Regions from separate parts of the Homo sapiens genome. Here region 2 is linked to region 1. The links are contacts of gene promoters, found by promoter capture Hi-C in blood cells and fetal thymus (Javierre and others, 2016). All regions are on one chromosome and are shown on one strand. The core of a region is centred on a gene start or on the middle of the fragment in contact, and the rest is flanking DNA. Distances in the headings are between cores, read along the strand shown.

What was found. Contacts are between HindIII fragments. The CHiCAGO score rates a contact against its expected background, and 5 or more counts as called.
Region 2: the fragment with the promoter of PCDHGA7 here is called in contact with a fragment that was not itself captured in region 1 in 1 of 17 cell types (M1 macrophages); the score reaches 5.3 in M1 macrophages.

What each region holds. Positions count from the first base shown.
Region 1 is chr5:140,886,469-140,893,081 of GRCh38, reverse strand. The region is part of intron 1 of PCDHA1 (protocadherin alpha 1); the gene reads right to left. The region is part of intron 1 of PCDHA2 (protocadherin alpha 2); the gene reads right to left. All of the region lies in intron 1 of PCDHA3 (protocadherin alpha 3), which reads right to left. The region is part of intron 1 of PCDHA4 (protocadherin alpha 4); the gene reads right to left. It also overlaps PCDHA5, PCDHA6, PCDHA7, PCDHA8, PCDHA9 and PCDHA10, and 4 more genes. Among named protein-coding and RNA genes, the nearest start is that of PCDHA13, 7.7 kb to the right of the region's middle. The HindIII fragment of the contact is 2,103 bases long and covers 984-3,086 here.
Region 2 is chr5:141,377,238-141,384,629 of GRCh38, reverse strand. PCDHGA7 (protocadherin gamma subfamily A, 7) reads right to left here and starts at 1,888. Exons shown (of 4, transcript NM_018920.4): 1 at 1-1,888. The coding sequence starts at 1,730. The region is part of intron 1 of PCDHGA1 (protocadherin gamma subfamily A, 1); the gene reads right to left. All of the region lies in intron 1 of PCDHGA2 (protocadherin gamma subfamily A, 2), which reads right to left. The region is part of intron 1 of PCDHGA3 (protocadherin gamma subfamily A, 3); the gene reads right to left. It also overlaps PCDHGB1, PCDHGA4, PCDHGB2, PCDHGA5, PCDHGB3 and PCDHGA6, and 1 more gene. The HindIII fragment of the contact is 6,225 bases long and covers 1-3,445 here.

The DNA of each region.
Region 1 (6,613 bases), core at 786-3,285:
AATGAAATCCTGTTATTCATGGCAGTATGGCTGAGCCTGGAGGGCATATGTTAAGTGAAATAAGTCAGGCACAGAAAAATAAATACATGTTCTCACTTATACGGCAGCTACAAAATTTTATTGAGCTCATGGAAGTAGTATTGTGCTTATCAGAGGCTGGGAAGGGTGAAGGAAAAGGAGGATGGGGAAAGGTTGGTTAATGGATACGAAATTATAGCTACACAGGAGGAATGGGTTGTGGTGTTTTGCAGCACTGTAGCACTGTAGGATAAATATGGTTAACTATAATTTCTTACATATTTTCAAGAAGCTAGAAGAGTGGATTTTAAATGTTCACCATGCAAAAATGGTAAATGTTTGAGATTATGAATATGCTAATTACCCTGATTTTATTATTATACATTGTATATATGTATCAAAATGTCACTCTGTATCCTATAAATATGTACAATTATTATGTACCAACTGGAAATAAAAGGAAAAAAATAGGTGAATGAATACTGAGATATACTTTTGACAGTCTCCAAGGACTAGAGAAACAAAAGTCAGAATCCTGAGTCTACCAGTCATGGTGGAACTTCTTAAACAATCTCTCATGTTTGGCTAGGAAACTGAATAACCGTACTTAAAGAATACATGTAAATTTTAGATAATGAGGTTTTATCTAGAATACCTGAAGCTTGAAATAGATTAAGATTACCCATGATTGCTAGTGCCCCAAGATGCCTGGCAAAAGTCAATTAAAATCCATTCTGGAGAAAGAAAATGTTATAAGCCCCAAATTATTTCCAGGAAGAAGTGTTTAATACAACTTTCAGCACAAAATCAAAGATAACCAGGTTTATGTGGAGACAAAACACCATAAAGATACAATTTTAAAACACACCACAGGAATAGACCCATGAGGATCCCAGTTACTGGACATATCAGAAATAGACGCTAAAACCATGAGCTTATTGTGTTCCAGATATAAATGCCAAGCTTGAAAGTTTCGAGAGGAAACTAGAAATTATACAAAGTAACAATAAATTTGAAAAAGAATAAATAAAAGTATCTTAGACCATTTGTGCTGCTATAACAGAATGCCACAGACTGAGTAATTTATGAGAACGGAAATTTACTTCTCACAATTCTGGAGCCTAGGGGAAGTCCAAGATCAAGGCACCAGCATCTGGTGAAGATCTTCTTGCTGCATCGTCACATGACAGAGCCAAAAGCATAAGAGAGGGACAGGCTCCTTCCATCAAGTCCTTTTACAGTGCCGTTAATTTATTCATGAGGGCAGATCCCTCATAATCTAAACATTTCCTGAAATTCCCCACCTCCCAACACTGTTGTATAAGGGATTGAATTTTCAACACATGAATTTGGGGGTACAAATTCAGACAACAGCAAGAAGAGAGAATTATTAAACTTTAAGGTGGGTGAACTATCCACAATAAAGCCCAAAGAGCAAAAGGTGTTAAAATAAAAGGTAGAAATAGATGGGATAGAGTAATAAGATTAAAATATGTTTAATTAGAGTACTAAAATAATACTATAGAAATACAATGGAACAGAAGCAACATTGGAGAACATTATAGCTGAGGATATGCTCAAAGTGATGTAAAGGCATTAATTCACAAATTCAAAAATCCTATACAATGGACGTTGGGGACTTGGGGGCAAGAGTGGGGGGTGGCGAGGGATAAAAGATTGCAAATATGGTGCAATGTATACTGCTCAGGTGATGGATGCACCAAAATCTCACAAATCACCACCAAAGAACTTACTCATGTAATCAAATACCACCTGTACCCCCAATAACTTACGGAAAAATTAAAAATTAAAAAAAATCCTACTGAATCCAGAACAGGATGATTATAAAGACACAGCATGGTAAAACTGCAAAATATCAGACACACAGAAAATCTGAAAAGCAGCCAAAGGAAAATAAACAGAATACCTTTAAAGGAATGACATTTAGATTGACAGCTAAATTCTTGACAGCAACAATGGAAACCAGTAGACACTGGAATAATATTTACTATGTGCTGTGGGGGTCACACCTAAGATTATACCCTCAGAAAAAATGCTTTTCAATAATTATGATGAAATAAAGACATTTTCAGAAAAACAAAACCTGAAATCATTCCTCACCAGCATCTTTGGACTAAAGGAAACTCTCAAATTATTCTAACATGGAAAGACAATAATCCCTGATGAAAGGTCAGAGGGGCAAGAAGTAAGGAAGAGAAACAAAACTGGTAAATATGTAAGTACATTTAAAACAATGTTGATTGTATAAAATAATACTAATATCTTATGGGGTTTTAAAATATTTTTAAAGCATGACAGAAATAGTATATAAGTCAAAAGGGATTAAAAAGATTTTAAAAATGTAAGGTCCCTGCATTTCCCAGAAGGAGGAAGGGTTTCAGTTAACTTTTGATTTTGATATATCAAGGATACATGCTTAATTTTCTAGGGTAAGCACTAGCTATTCGGAAAAGGGCTTCCAAATAATACAGAAGGAAATGGAACAATAAAAAGTACTCAGTCATTTCAAAAGAAGATCAACAAAGGAAGGAAATAGAGACATAAAAATGGTGAGACAAAAATAACGCACAAAAAATTGAAATATTTGTGCCTAAAGATATCACTAGGTATTGTAAATATAAACTAAATAAATATTCAAGTTAAAATTTATAGATTATCTAAGAAAGAGTACTTGTTCAGGTTATCCATTGCTATATAGTAAACCATCCCAACTACCTAATATCTTAAAACAACTTAATATTACCTCTCCTGGTTCTGACTCAACTGAGTGGTTCTTGCTTGCAATCAGGTGCAGTAGTGTACTGGTAAATGCTTAACAACTAGGTCTCTGGGAAAAAAGAAAAACAAAAAACTCTGTTTTGTAGCATTTGCCTATTTCTGTGGCAGAAATACTCCTACCATGGCCAATTTCAAGCTACCAAAGTGACATCATTGAATCCAGAGTTGGGAATAAATTTGCATTATCAGTTCTCATAAGCCAGTAAAAGAGCCAGCTCCAACACACTACAGTCACCTGAAGCCTTCTACATTTTTCTGGCACCTAAGCTTGGAAAGCTAAGACAACTGGAGACTGGATAGTAATTTTTCTATCCATTTGGCTTCTCACAAGTCCAGCTTGAGCTTCTTTACAGTATGACAATCTCAAGGTAGTCAGAATTCTTACATGGTGGCAGGCTTCCCCCAAAACAAATATTCTCAGAGACCAAAGCATACTGTAAGACTTCTTATGACCTGACTTCATAAATCCCAGAATGTTACTTCCAATATTAAGACCAGTCAAAGTTCAAGGAAAGAAAAATTAGACTCTGCTACTCAGTGAGACAGTAGCAAAGAACTTGTGGAATATGCCCATAATACTAAAAGGTTTAAAATAAAAGGCTGGGAAGAGGACATCTCCTGCAAACACAAATGAAAAGAAGAGAAATGAATCAGTATAATTAATATAAAAATATTTCAAAGCAAAAACAAAAATCAGAAAGCAGAATTCTGAAGAAAAGTAAATTAGACAGGAAGCAAAAATAATATCAAGAATGGAAAGGGAAATATCACTATAGATTCTGTAGAAAGTATGAGCATATAACTGAAAATTTAGATTAAACAGGAAAATACCTGAAAAAATATTATCTACGTAACTGACTCGAGTAAATTAAACTCTGAATGGTCCTTATACTATTAAAATTGAGTCAGTAATCAGAAATATTCCCACCAATCAAAATCCTGATACAGATAACTTCAACAGTGAGTTCTCCAATCAAATAAGAAGTAATTCAAAGATTATACAAACTTTTACAGGAAACAGAAAATTTTCTGGAAGTTTTCAAAGACTATTCTTCTTTGTTAAGTATTCAAGTTATGCTAGATTCTTATTTATAACTTGAATACTTAACAAAGAAGAAATTAGGAAGAAAAACTAGGACATATCAGTATCACCTGGAATAAAGATGAAAAAATTGTTTTGAAAATTTAACAAAATAAGTAGTATATTAAAAGGATTATAAATTATAATCAAATTACGGTTATCCAAGGAAGTAGAGGTTGGTTTGCCATAAGAAAATCATAAATCATAAATTCAACACATTAACATTGCCAAAGAAAAAATTTATACCTCCCTCAAAAGATGCAGATAAAATATTTGATAACATTAAACCTCAATTCTAATGTTTTAATTTTTATGTTGAGACATGGTCTCACTCTGTCACCAGGCTGCAGTGGAGTGATGTGATCACAGATCACAGATCACTGATCAACCTCCCCAGATCAGGCTATCCCTTCAAAATTAAAAAAAAAAGTGGGTAGAATAATTCCTAGAGCTCACAAAGGGCTGGAAATATTTCACATTCCTACCAATCAGAGAAGAGAGACCTCTTAATGCACAGGGCATTAGGTGGTGTCCTCAGGAAAGTATTGCTGTAATAGAAGGCCGAATTAGTGCTACACTAAAAGCTGCTCTGAATGTGTACTAACAAATCTTAAAATGAAGCCTTGAAAGGAATAAATTGGTACTGAGCAACTTAACTTCACGTCAGAACTAAGTCCAAGACTCTTTAAAGCAGAGTTTCTCAACAGTGGAACTACTGACATTTTGAGCTAATTCTTTATTGTTGGGCGGCTGTCCTGTGCACGGTAGGATGTTTGGCAGCAATTGGATGGTGTTTAGCAGCATCTCAGAGCTCCATTATTAGATGCCAGTAGCAATTCCCTAGTTGTAATAACCAAAAATGTATCCAGGCATTGCCAAATTATCTCCTGGGTAGGGGGTAGAGGGGACAAAACTGTTTCTTATCAAGAACTACTGCTTTAAAGGAACACGCACACACATGCACACACACACAAAATCCAGCATCCGACAATGTAAAATTCACAATGTCTAGCATCTTATTAGAGATTACCAGTCATGCAAAACAGCAAGAAAATATATCCATAGAAGAAGATAGATTAAAAGAAGCAAACTAAGGACAAAAATGTTGAAATTAGCAGACAAGAAAGTTAAAACATCTATTATACATGTACTAATATGCTCAAACATATAGATAAAAAGATGACTATTCGGTGGAGACATGTAAAATAAATTTTAAAAGAGACAAAAAGAATCTTATACAGATAAGAAATAAATATGGTCTCTGAAATGAAGAATACACTGTTTAGGATTAACAGATATGATACTACAAAAGGAAAAATTAGTGAACTTGGAAAATATGTCAATAAAAGATATTCAAAATGAGGCACAGAGAAAGAAATGGACAAAAATAAAGAACGCTTCAATGACCTGTGTCATTGTAACATATGTGTTACTGGAGTCTCAGAAAGGATGGAAGGAAAGAAAAAACTATTAGAAGAAGTATGGTTGATTTTTTCCTGAATTTGATGAAAATGATAAATCCACAGATCCAAGAATATCAACAAACCCCAACAGACTAACATAAAGAAAACCATACTAAAGCACATCACAATCAATCTGCAAAAGTCAGGATAAAAAGAAAAGTTTTAACAGTAACCATGAGGGGTGGGGAGAGGAAGACTCATATATAAAAAAGCAAACATCTTATTAGAAACTATGCAAGCCAGAAGACAACTGAATTATATCTTTTAAAAAACTGTCAACTATGCCCAGTGAAAATACTTTTTCAAAAATAAAAATGAGATAAAGAGCCGGGCGCGGTGGCTCACACCTGTAATCCCAGCACTTTGGGAGGCCGAGCCAGGTGGATCACGAGGTCAGGAGTTCGAGACTATCCTGGCTAACAAGATGAAACCCCATCTCTACTAAAAATACAAAAAATTAGCAGGGCGTGGTGGCGGGCGCCGGTAGTCTCAGCTACTCGGGAGGCTGAGGCAGGAGAATGGCGTGAACCCGGGAGGTGGAGCTTGCAGTGAGCCGAGATCACGCCACTGTACTCCAGCCTGGGCGACAGAGTGAGACTCCGTCTCAAAAAAAAAAAAAGAGATAAAGATATTTCTCAGACAAAAGCTGAGTGAATTTGTTGCCAGAACATATGCACTATAAAAAATATTAAAGAAATTTTTCAGGCAGTAGGAAAGTGATACCAACTGGAAATTTGGATTTACAAAATAATAAATTTCGTTGCTAAATGTCTAATGTGTAGAACATGCCTGGCACATAGAGAACACTCAATAAGTATTTATTAAATGCATTTAATTAATGAATGTTCAATATAGGAGTTGGGAAGACCTTTCTTTTTTTTTTTTTTTTTTTTCAAGACGAAGTCTTGCTCTGTCACCCAGAGCTGGAGTACAGTAGCATGATCTCATCTCACTGCAACCTCCACCTCCCGGGTTCAAGCAATTCTCTTGCTTCAGCCTCCCAAGTAGCTGGGATTACAGGCGCGTGCCACCATGCCTCGCTAATTTTTGTATTTTTAGTAGAGACAGGGTTTCACCATGTTGGCCAGGCTGGTCTCGGACTCCTGATCTCCTGATCCGCCCACCTTGGCCTCCCAAAGTGCTGGGATTACAGGCGTGAGCCACCGTGCCCAGCTGGGAAGACCTTTCTAACTGAATATGCAGACCTTAAAATCCATAAAAGGAAAAAGATATATTTTAATTCATACATTTT
Region 2 (7,392 bases), core at 639-3,138, 490 kb before region 1:
AGCTCCATGCCAGTAGAACCATCTGTGGGGAGGGCCGGGTACAGGATCTCGGGCGGGTTGTCATTCTGGTCCAGCACGAACAGGCTCAGTGACATGTTGCTGCTGAGAGGCGGGTCCCCGCTGTCATGTGCAGTCACTCTTAGTTGTAGTTCTCTCAACTGCTCATAATCAAAGGATTGCAGCGCGTACAGGACTCCAGTGTCAGAGTTTATGGAGACATAGGAGGACACTGGAGCCCCCTGGATGGTGTCTTCGGCCAAGGAATAAGTGATCTGGGCATTATCCTCACTGTCGTGGTCCTGTGCAGTCACTAAGAAAATGGAGGCCCCTCTGGGGTTGTTCTCAGCGATGTAGACTGAGTAGGATGAGTGGGGGAAGGTGGGTGGGTTATCGTTGGTGTCTGCCACCTGCATGAATATGTGAGTTTCCCTGGACAAGGGAGGAGTTCCACCATCTGTGGCTTTCAGTGTGATGTTATACAAAGAGAGTGTTTCCCGGTCCAAGTTTTTGGTTGTGACCAATCTATAATAATTATCTATTGATTTTTCTAATTTAAAAGGTAGGTTTTCTGGAATGGTGCAGGTCACCTCACCATTCTTTCCAGAATCTCTGTCTTGTAGGTAGAAAAGAGCAATGACTGTCCCAAGAGGTGTGTCTTCAGGGATTGAGCTACTTAAAGACGTCATAGTCACTTCTGGAGCATTATCATTTACATCTAAAACTGTGATCAGTACTTTTGCCTTTGTCAGACTACCAGGACCATCTTGAGCCTGAACCTCCATTTCATAGAAGGCAGTTTCTTCATAATCTAATCCTTCTAAAGTTGATATTTCTCCTGTAAGCGAGTTCAGATGAAACATCTTTGGAAGTTTAGGAGTTATTTTCCGAAAAGAATATGTCACTTCCCCATTGACTCCCTCGTCCAGGTCGATAGCATGTACCGTGAGCAGTCTTGTACCCACTGGCACATTCTCGGGGACAGTTACTTGGTACTGAGGCAGAGAGAAGACAGGCGTGTGGTCATTCACATCCACCACTGTCACCTGGATGTGGGCGGTGCTGGATCGGGGCGGGTCGCCGCCATCAGAGGCTGTGAGGACCAGGTGGTGAACCCGCTCTTCCTCCCGGTCCAGCACCCGCTCCAGCACCAGTTCCGGGTACTTAGTTTCATCGTCTCCACTTTGCACAGCCAGGGAGAAGTGGCGATTGGGGCTGAGCTGGTAACTCTGGAGGGAGTTCGTGCCCACATCTGGATCCCCAGCCTCGCTTAACGGAAACCGAACCCCAGGAGCTGTATTCTCCATTATTTTTACATTTATTTCTTCCGTCAAGAATCTTGGAACGTTGTCATTAATATCTATTATTTCCACGTCTATAGGGTAAAGATTCATTTTATCTTCCATCAGGATGTTAAAGTTTACCAGACACCGCGCACTCTGAGCGCAGATCTCTTCCCGGTCTATCCTGCCCGCAGTGACCAAGCTGCCGCTGCGCTGGTTCAGGGCGAAAAGCTGCGTCCTACCTCTGGAGATGATGCGGACTCCGCGCTCCGCCAGCTCCCGGGGCTCCAGCCCCAGGTCCTTGGCGATGTCTCCCACAAAGGACCCTTTGTCCGTCTCCTCCGACACGGAGTAGAGAATACGTCCTGCCCAGGCTTCCCAGGGGGTCCCCAGGAGGATGGAGAGCAGGAAGAATCCTCTGTAGTCCCCGCCCCTCGGCTGAGCCGCCATAGTCGTCCTGCTTCTCTTGCTTAGGCGCCGATCTCGGGAAGTGCTTCAGAATGCGGGTGTATCCGGGTGGACCCCTCTGTCTTAGGAAGGGGAGCTCAGAATCCAGCAGGATAGAGGCTTGAGTTTAGTGCAGCCTGGAAGAGGGCTTATCGCAATCTGTCGTTTCTCTGTGCTGTAAAACTCGGTGGTTTCTGTGGGATCTCTCGCACCATTTTTCCCTGGTTGGTGAACAGCGGCGCTGTGAGTCCTTACTAAGTTACTGCACCACATTGATGCACACAATACACTGATTTCATAGAAAATTGTTTCATCTTTCAAAATTTCCCTGTTAGATTTCTTTGCTCTAGATATCCCTGATAATTAAAAATCCATTTTAAGACACTGAATTAATGCAACAGTGTTCATGGACCGGTGTTTGATAATCTTAGATAATTTTTAAAAAACTGCTTTGCCTTGCAACTTTCAAGTGACTCTTTTGGGCACTGACTCACACGTTATTGCACATGGGAAAATCAGTTATTGAAGGCAAAAAGGTAAATTTTATTTAAATACATATGAAAGATTTTACTTAGAAAATATTTACATCAGTGTATATAAATTTTAATTAATTCAGTATTAATTGAACACATATGTTCTAGACACCATGATGCAAGATTCAGAAAGTCAAAATTGTTGTAAAATATATAGACCTATTTTAATAAATTTTTGATTGTATAGAACCTTAGAGACGGTCTAACACCTTCATTTTAACCGTTTAAAAAATGAGAGGGGGGGCCAGGTGCTGTTGCTCACGCCTGTAATCCCACACTTTGTGAGGCCGAGGCGGGCGGATCACCTGAGGTCGGGAGCTTGAGACCAGCCTGACCAACATGGAGAAACCCCGTCTCTACTAAAAATACAAAATTATCCGGGCGTGGTGGCGCGCGCCTGTAATCCCAGCTACTCAGGAGGCTGAGGCAGGAAAATCGCTTGAACCCGGGAGGTGGAGGTTGTGGTGAGCCGAGATCACACCATTGCACTCCAGCCTGGACAACAAGAGCAAAACTCTGCCAAAAAAAAAAAAAAAAAAAAAAGAAGAAGAAAGAAAGAAAGAAAGAAAGAGGGAATTGCCTTGCCTTGTTCCTGATTATTGATTATATAGTAGTAGAACAATGTCGGAATCCAAATATTCTCACTCCCAGTCTTGTGAGAAAAAAAGAAAGAAATCGTTGTTTGTCTTGGCTGCAGCAATCAGCTATAGAAGCAACCCATTTTCTACAGAAGGCAGAAATCTGCAGAGATCCTACTGGGCTGTGAATTCATAAGAAACTGGATAATGGATTGGCTGATTCTTTTCATTATGCAATTCAATTCAAGTCTTCATCCTAGTATGCAATTCAAATCTTCATCCTACTCTATTCTAGTGTAATTGAGAAAACAGGGATCTCTAGACAGCATTTGAGCAAAATGCAGGACTGTCCTGACAGGATCCTTAGAGGTACTCGTCTCTCCACTGATGTTGATAGAGTAAAACTAAATTATTGATGGATCCGAGGCTACCCTCTGCTAGCAGAAAGAAAAGAAAGCTCCTTTCACATAGTTGCAGAATAAAAGAGAATGACCTGCTCTGGAATAAAGACCTGGCAAGAAACAGTCTTGGTTTGTAAATTCTTCTAGGTCCTGGAGAGTAGTTGGTGGAACCAGGAGGAGAATCCAGAACTAACACTAAGAAAGCTTAACTTCGTTTTGTGGGAGGCTCCTAAGTAACCTATTTCTGCTTTCTGGTGGCATTGCTCCAGAATACAGGGAACACTTTGAAGGACATTCTGTTTTGATCTATCAAAATAATCCATAGTTATCTTTGCATTCACAAAGTAGATAAATTTTGTTTAAAGGAACTAATAGAGGTATTATAGATGAATTCTGTAAACTGGAGTTAAATTCTATTTGTTTAATAGTACTTTTGAACTTCTTGTTGAGGCAAGCAAAGTGTATGATTATTAAACAATGTAAGCACTTGTAGATATTTTCAAACAAACTTTCATGTTTGGAGGTTATAGCTCTCAATGTCTTGATCCATTTTTACCTGATGCCTCAAAATTCATAGTTTCATCTCACATTTGTTTCTTATTCTACTGTTTTAAAAAAGTCTCAATTAATTTATAGTGTCTTGGTACCTTCTTTGGAGAAAAGGAAATAAGAGCTAGTTAAATTAAATTATAGACTACTCCGAACACAAAGCATACATACCCTATGGAGTAAATGGCTTCATTGTCTCTAGCATTCACATTTTCTAAGTTATCGAACATCATAAAATTAAATATTAAAGATCTTTACTAGACCGCCAAGATATGTTTAATAAAATCTAACATAAGCTCATTGTATCAAATTGAAATCATTTCATAGTTTAAAGAGTGTATATTATTGTTGACTGAGATATTGGGAAGAATCCTGACCATTTGTTTGGTTGCATTAAAAAGAATTCTATGTAAAGTCTATTTGGCTTCCTGGGCATCGAATTGATTATCTTCTCTCTTTTCTTTTTTGGGACTTTTTTTTCTAAAAAACAAACAACAAAACAGTTCTTTGAAGTTCCATTTAGATTTTCATTCTCAAGCAAAGATATAGGTATCTTCCAATGTTTCTCCTCTGAGATTTTACTCCTTCCCCTTTGACAATTGCCACCTCAACAGAAGCCTGATCAGAAATGAATGCCTTTCAGGCCGGGCTCAGTGGCTCATGCCTGTAATCCCAGCCCTTTGAGAGGCTGAGGCGGGTGGATCACTTAAGGTCAGGAGTTTGAGACCAGCCTGGCCATCATGGTAAAACCCCATCTCTACTAAAAGTATGAAAATTAGCTAGGCATGGTGGCATGCACCTGTAATCCCAGCTACTTGGGAGGCTGAGGCAGGAGAATCGCTTGAACCCAGGAGGAGGAAGTTGCAGTGAGCAGAGATCACACCACTGCATTCCAGCCTGGGAGACAGAGCAAGACTCTGACAAAAAAAAAAAAAAAAAAAAAAAAAAAAAAGAGGCTTTCACAGACCATAAAATAAGAATAAGACAATAATTTGGTAGTTTTTTTTCCTGATGCTTCAAAATTCTATACTGAACTCTCAAAACCTCAGATAGCCTATCTTATTATTAATGATCTGTATTGCAGGTGGATTAAAGAACCTCATTTAGCCATAACTTAGCAAATTCCATGACTGCCAGGATGTTTAACAGTTGGTCAGTCCACATGAGTGAATGACTTTTGTGAGAGTAGAAGTTGGTAGTTTTTCCATCAGAGAAATATTTTATTTGTTTAAATGAAATGGTCACAGGTAATAAGAGAATAAAATAAACCAGCCTGATCTCCATGAAAAGTAGTTAGTGAGCTTTCCCTATAACAACAAATGCTCAAGATGTAGTTTAACATCCCAAATTGGTAGTATAGTAAAATAACATTCACACTTTCAGAGTTTATGAAATAATCATATGTATAACAGCCCATCTAACTCATGAGACTAATATCCAAGATTCAAGTTGTTTAAAATTGTTATTTTATCAAATTATATCACAAAGATACAAGAAAATGAGCTTTGAAGATGTGTATGATTAGATCTCTTGTTTAGGTATATACCTTTGGAAACTTGAAATAAATAAATCTATAACAATTCCTTAAATGTAAATACCACAATATTGGTTCAGAAAAACACATATTACTCTTAGCAGCTTATTTAAAAACACATCAACTCAATGTTATCTTTAAGAAGACTGACAAAGTCAGGTTACAAAGGAGGTTCTCATTTATTTTCAAGGTATCTTCTCAATTGCTTTTTTCTTACACATTCATAACAAATTCAGATGCACAAGTGGCCAATCCATTCTATAATACCACCAGATTGTAGAATCTTCCAACTCATGACTGGAGAAAAATCTTGACTATAATGTAGTTCAACAAGTCATCAAATTAGAGAATCCCCTGTACTCCATTCATTCCAGGGCCATCAACTTACTTTTGAAGACTGTCGATAACAGAATCTCCTATCTCCTTAGTGATCCATTTTCTATTCGAACATCATTGACAGTCAAAAACTCTGCTGTTTTCTGTTCATGAAACAATGATTCTGTTTGCACATTTCAGTCATAATAAATAAGACTAATCAGTCTTCTAAATGATAATCCCTTTTTTCTTGAAATATTTCAATAAAGAGTTCCTATATGATGAAAGCCTTATTGTCTGGGTTAAAATGCTAAAATATTTAAATTTTTATTTGAACCTCATTAACATTTGTTCTCCCATTCACCAGTCAGTCATCTATTTTTAGAGATATGTCCTGTAAGCAGACACTACCGAGCATGTTTTAAAATTCATGTTCACTCTTTATTTATTAATTATCATTATTATTTTTTGAGACAGAGTCTCGCTCTGTCACCCAGACTGGAGTGCAGTGGCACGATCTTGGCTCACTGCAACCTCTGCCTCATGGGTTCAAGCGATTCTCCTGCCTCAGCCTCCCGAGTAGCTGCGATTACAGGCCCATGCCACCCCACCTGGCTAATTTTTGTATTTTTAGTAGAGACGGGGTTTCACCATGTTGGTCAGGCTGGTCTCGAACTCCTGACTTCGTGAGATGCCTGCCTTGGCCTCCCAAAGTGTTGGGATTACAGGCATGAGCCACCGCACCCGGCCATTTTCACTCTTAAATACTATCAGGCACACAGTATGCAAAAGACACTGTAGTAGGCACACAGCATCGGTGCTTAGTTATTGTTAACAACCCAATAATTATAATAATGGTGATGTCAACAAATACGTGTTCACTATGCTGCTTTAGAGTTTGAAAAAAAGTTATAAAATTATTTTCTTAGAATTTGAGTCAGATAGATAAGGAAAGTCTTGTTTTAAAAAATAATATAAGTAGAGCTTATTTGAGCCAAGCTTTAGGATTGCAACCCAGGAACATAGATTCAAGTTGCCCTGGATACACACTCTATAAGCAGCAGTTACAGGTGGATTTTTACTCCAGACTGGGCAACAGAGGGGGATCCTATCTCTGATAAGAGAAGTCTTTTAAATCTTAATTTTAATTGGAAGATAATGGCGATTGTAACTGGCCCAAGTAAATAACAGATAGTTACAGGAATGTTATTCAGGTCTTTTAACACCAAAGATCTGGTGTCCCCTGCTGCAGTTACCAATGATTCTTATCTTTTCAAAAATAATTTTTGATTCCTAAGTAGTAAAGGTGAAAGATCTCTTGTATGAACGTCTGTCGTTTATAGTTATCAAGTAACACTGAGAAAAAACAAAATCTTTTTTTTTTTTTGAGAGAGAGAGAGAAAAAGTCTCATTCTGTCTCCCAGGCTAGGGTGCAGTGACACAATTATATCTCACTGCAGCCTCATACCCCTGGACTTAAGCAATCCTCCTATCAGAGCTTCTCGAGTAGCTGGGACTACAGGTGTACGCCACACATCTGGCTACTTTTTTTTCTTTTTGGTAGAGACAGAGTCACCCAGGCTGGTCTCAAACTCCTGGTCTCAAGGGATCCTCCTGCCTCAGCCTCCTGAAGAGGTGGGATTACAGGCGTGAACCACCATGCTAGCTAAAACCAAGATCTTGATCTTTAACACTGACCTAAATTAAGGTTATTTTTTTTCCCACATTAGAAAAAGAAAGAACCTTACAAATGTC